Linked DNA regions of Homo sapiens: region 1 is linked to region 2. Evidence: promoter capture Hi-C in 16 types of primary human blood cells and fetal thymus (Javierre and others, 2016). All regions are on one chromosome and are shown on one strand. The core of a region is centred on a gene start or on the middle of the fragment in contact, and the rest is flanking DNA. Distances in the headings are between cores, read along the strand shown. Region 1 has its middle 38 kb from the start of PDP1. Region 2 holds the start of TMEM67 (transmembrane protein 67).

Evidence for each region. Contacts are between HindIII fragments. The CHiCAGO score rates a contact against its expected background, and 5 or more counts as called.
Region 1: a contact is called between a fragment that was not itself captured here and the fragment with the promoter of TMEM67 in region 2, in 1 of 17 cell types (total B cells). The highest score is 5.2, in total B cells.

The regions. Positions count from the first base shown.
Region 1 is chr8:93,953,987-93,956,686 of GRCh38, forward strand. No RefSeq gene overlaps it. Among named protein-coding and RNA genes, the nearest start is that of PDP1, 38 kb to the left of the region's middle. The HindIII fragment of the contact is 5,212 bases long and covers 1-2,700 here.
Region 2 is chr8:93,753,459-93,756,158 of GRCh38, forward strand. It overlaps TMEM67 (transmembrane protein 67), which reads left to right and starts at 1,436. Exons shown (of 28, transcript NM_153704.6): 1 at 1,436-1,679; 2 at 2,320-2,408. The coding sequence starts at 1,457. The HindIII fragment of the contact is 4,875 bases long and covers 1-2,700 here.

The DNA of each region.
Region 1 (2,700 bases), core at 13-2,512, 200 kb after region 2:
CCTCCCGGGTTCAAGCAATTCTCCTGCCTCAGCCTCCTGAGTATATGAGACTAAAGGCACATGCCACCACACCCAGCTAATTTTTTGTATTTTTTGTAGAGACGGGGTTTCACTGTGTTAGCCAGGATGGTCCCGATCTCCTGACCTTGTCATCGCCCTCCTCGGCCTCCCAAAGTGCTGGGATTACAGGCGTGAGCCACCATGCCCGGCTAATTTTTGTATTTTTACAAAATAACTCTTTTACACAGGGTTTCACCATGTTGGCCAGCCTGGTCTCAAACTCCTGACCTCAAATGATCCACTCACCTCAGCCTCCCAAAATGTTGGGATTACAGGCATGATCCACTGCACCCGTCGTAACTGCAGCATTTTTAAGATATGAGATATACATGCACATCTGGTTTATTTGCTATGTGATCTGTATCTCTCTTTTGACTGCTACTTTAAAACTCTTTTGGAATTAAGCCCTTAGGGTACAGCTTTATATTCCTTATTACTATATTCTTGGAAAACTGCTTTGCATACAAATGCTTAATTTTAAATGGGTGATAATAAGTACGATGTATTCTGCTACCGTAATATGTAGATTATGAAGAGGTTGGCACATGATTGGGCTGGGGTGGTAAAGAAAGTACTTGAAATAGTCAAAGGGAAAGATTTCATTTTTCTCAATTTAACCTGCTCACAGAAGGGCAATAAGAGCCTCATTATCTCATTTAGACAAGACTGATGGAGTCACAGCCTGCATGGTCCAGTCTCAGGATGGCTCATATTGGAAGAAGCACTGCTCAAACAGGCGTTTCAGTTTTACTCAGAGCTCTAAAAATTTGAAAGGCTCTAAGTCATAATTCACGGTTAATATTTAAATCCTCTGCCTTGGCTGGGTGTGGTGGCTCACACTTGTAATCCCAGCACTTTGGGAGGCTGAGGTAGGCGGATCACCTGAGGTTGGGAGTTCGAGACCAGCCTCACCAACATGGTGAAACCCTGTCTGTACTAAAAATATAAAAATTAGCCAGGCATGGTGGCGCATGCCTGTAATCCCAGCTACTTGGGAGGCTGAGGCAGGAGAATCGCTTGAACCCAGGAGGTGGAGGTTGCAGTAAGCCGAGATAGTGCCATTGCACTCCAGCCCGGGTGACAGAGTGAGACTCATCTCAAAAAAAAAAAAAAAAAATCCTCTGCTAGAAACACTTCTGCAGCGCCTTGTAAATGCCAGTGTCTTGCCCTCTCCCACCCTCTCACCTCTGCTTCTCCTTTGGCTGTGTCCTCTCTAGTGCATCTGATCTGACATGAACACCCCTTCCCTCCCTTCTCTTCCACGTTTCTGCAGTTAGCAGCGTAGGTAATGGAGGAAGAGCGCAACACCCAAGTGATTTTTGTCCAGATGTATTTCAGTCACATTAAATTTCTGAGGTTTCAGATTTTATCTTACTGTTTGTGTGTGGTGTGCGTGTTTAAAAATTAGAGTTTGTAAAAGAATTCTTGTAAAAGTGTGCTATGTTCCTAGCAAGTTATCTTCTTTCTACGGACAGTGGCTGTACTTTCCTCGCCAACGCCCCCTCATGCTGTTCCTCCTCCGCATGTGAGTTTGATCATTGCTGCATTATGGTTTTCTCTAGCACGTTTTTTGGTAATGCATCCCTTTTTGAGAAAGAGGCCAGCCCTTCACCTCCCATGTCCAGCTCCCCAACCTGGTCTACTGGCAGCAACACAAAGACCCTCATGGAGGCACGGGGACAGCTGCTTCCTGACTTTGTTGTGGCTGCTCCAGGGCTTGTTCTGAGGTCACTGACTTTGTGGTTTTTTGTTTGTTTGTTTTGAGACGGAATCTCGGAATCTCGCTCTGTCGCCCAGGCTGGAGTGCAGTGGTGTGATCTCCGCTCACTGCAATCTCCGCCTCCCAGGTTCAAGCAATTCTCCTGTCTCAGCTTCCCGAGTAGCTGGGATTACAGGCGTGCGCGACCACGCCTGGCTAATTTTTGTATTCTTTTTCTTTTTTTGAGATGGAGTCTTGCTCTGTCACCCAGGCTGAAGTGTAGTGGTGTTGTCTCGGCTCACTGCAACCTCCACTTCCCGGGTTCCAGTGATTCTCCTGCCTCAGGCTCCCAGGTAGCTGGGATTTCAGGCTTGCATGACCATGCCCAGATAATTTTTGTATTTTTAGTAGAGAGGGGGTTTCACCATGTTGGCTAGGCTGGTCTCAAACTCCTAACCTCAGGTGATCCACCCGCCTCAGCCTCCCAAAGTGCTGGGATTTCAGGTGTGAGCCACCATGTCCAGCTGAGGTCACTGACTTTGAACATGGGGTGTCCTTTCTTTATATGTTGGTTTCTGTCTGGCACAGAGTAGGAACACAGTAAAGATGATCTGGCTCTGCATTTGTAGCCCGGAGGCAAAATTGCCATCCTTTTCTTTGTTGTATCAACAGCTCTCTTACAATGGCCGGGAAAGTAAGGAAGATGAAAGCTGCTTACTGTCACACAAGTTGGGTACAAAATTCCTATTTGGTCACTTTGGGAGGGAGTTCAAACCAAGTTCTCTGAGTCTGCTAACTTTGTTCTAAACCCAGTCTATTCTCCATTCAGGGTCACATTTGCCTCTGTCCCGAAGAGTAAGTCTGCCACCCTCTTGGCTCAACTAAATTTCTTTAGGTACTGGAGAAGTTTACCTTCTTCAGAAAGAAATGGTTTCCTTCCT
Region 2 (2,700 bases), core at 186-2,685:
CTGCCTCTCCCTTCCTCCATGGCTCCAATTTAGACTCTAGATTTCTACCTTAGCCTCGCAAGTGGTCTCTAACTCTAAACGTTTCCATATTTTTGTCCAGGATTTTTTTTTTTTTTTATATAGGGTCTCTGACATCCAGGCTGGAGTGCAGTGGCACGATCATAGCTTATTGCAGCCTTTGGGCTCATTGACCTCCTGGGCTTAAGTGGTTCTCCCGCCTCAGCCTTCCAAGCAACCGGGACCATAGGCATGTGCCACCCACCCAGCTAATTAAAATAAATTTTATTTGTAGAGGTGGAGTCTCACTATGTTGCCCAGGCTGGTCTTGAATTCCTGGGCTCAGACAATCCTTCCACTGTGGCCTCCCAAAATGTTAGGATTAGAGGTGTGAGCCACAGCACCAGGCTTAGATTCCTTTATTCACAAAAGGTGTAAAGGTGATCTCATTTTATATACATGTCAACTAAAGAAAAAAATCAGGCTTTTAAAGACTCAAAGTTAGTTTTATTCGGAGTCTTACTGAGGAATGCAACCCTGGAGAGTCTTTCAAAGAGTTTATGTTATACTGGTCCAAAGCAGCTGTTCTGCCCCCAGTTTCTACATCAAGGGATGGAGTTCTGCATGTGCTCAAAAGTTACATTAAACGTGCTCAGAAGTTACGTTGGAGCAAAATCTCATCAAAGTTTTGTTTGGAGACTACATCTGGTTATAGATTACAGAGGCATAATCATTAATCCTGTCACACGTTATCTTACGTACAGGAAGAGGCAAGAGCTAGGATCGCTGACTGTATCTTTTTAAAAAATGAAGTGATTCAAGCAACAGATGTGAAAACTTGTGCTCTATCCTACTTATTGTCTTCAGGGCATTCTTCTGGAGGACTGCGTTCAGTCACTGAGTCAGGGGCTTTGTGAAATTTCGCTGGCAACAGAATGAGCAAACATGGTTTCTTCCGTTTCGTACTTTGTCTCGCATACATGATTTCCTATGCTCAAACCTGGCAGGAAAGTTTTTTTATTTTTTCAGTCTTTGAGCTATAGTAATCCTTCACTGGGTTTTAAGTCAGTGGGGTTTTTTGACATCAAATTGTTAAACTACAAGTCATGTTTCCTTTAACGTGAAAATTACCTAGTCTGAATAAATTCTGATGTAACTATAACTCGACAAATTATGATATTTTCAACTTACGATGGGTTTATTGCGGGGAGGGGGCAGCCCTATCGTAAGTAGAGGAACTCTATACACGTTTGAAAATATCGCTGGGCTCCAGGGTTAACCGGTCTCTAACCCATTCTTTACTGGACCTGCCAACTTCGCGCAGGGTTGGTAACCTAGCAACCAAGCAACACGAGCAGTGACTTCCGGTACCCGGACTTGGGTTGTCCAATCAGCTCAGCGAAGCCGCCGCAGAGGCTGATGGGGGGCTGGAGGCTGTGAGGCTTCCAGCGTCGGTACCATGGCGACGCGCGGTGGGGCTGGGGTGGCAATGGCGGTTTGGTCCCTCTTATCCGCCCGGGCCGTGACCGCGTTCCTTCTGTTGTTCCTCCCTCGCTTCTTACAGGCCCAGACCTTCTCTTTCCCTTTCCAGCAGCCGGAGAAGTGCGACAACAACCAGTACTTTGATATCTCCGCCCTCTCGTGTGTTCCTTGTGGAGCTAACCAGAGGCAAGATGCCCGAGGTAAGACGGTTTGCGGTGGGCCCTGGCAAAAGTAACACTCCCGCCTTGGTCGGCCCCTAGTCCCCGTAAATGGAGTTTCACCATGTTGATCAGGCTAGTCTCGAACTTCTGACCTCAGGTGATCCACCCGCCTCCGCCTCCCAAAGTGCTGGGATTACAGGCGTGAGCCACCGCGCCTGGCCCGAATACATGTATATTGTTTAGTGACGTAGAAATGTAAAATTTCCAGCAGCAGTTAAGTAGTTTAATAGTTTAGTTATACTTGCACTTAAAATGGTAGCAGCATAATACCAGCTGTGTGCCAGTGTAAGACCTCTACGTATAATAACTAATTTTGTACTCATACTAACCCTGTGAGGTAGGTACCAATTTTTTTTCTCCATTTTATTGTAGAGGAAGCCAAGGCAGAGAGTTTAGTAACTTGTTCAAGGTCATGCAACTGAGTAGGATTACTACGATTGGAACTCAAGAAGTGTATTTCTGGATTTGAACCCAGGCAGTACTGCCTCCAGAATCCTGCTGTTAATCACTATACTGCTTCTCAAGATCTTCAGACTTATTAAAAGTTTCACTATCTGGGAACTTTATTTTTATTTATCAAGGATAAAATTGGCTTTTTTTTTTTTTTTTTTTTTTTTAGGAACTTCATGTGTATGTCTACCAGGATTTCAGATGATCTCTAATAATGGAGGACCTGCTATTATTTGTAAAAAGTGCCCAGAAAACATGGTGCGCATAATTTATTTTAAAATAACTTACCTGTAAAAAGTAGTAAGTTAAATATCTTTATTTTTCAAAATATAATTTAATGTTTAATGTTTCCCCACAGACTTTAAAATTACTATGCTAATTTTATTTTTACTAGAGTAAGTTTTGGGAGATCAGCGAAATTTCATGCAAACTTGGAGAAAACAGAAATGTATTTCTTTTAAAATCTGAAATCCAAAAACCACAAAGCTGTAAAAATTTAAGTTTTTGTTTTTACTCGTAGAATAACTCGGTTATGAAGAAAATTAGATGA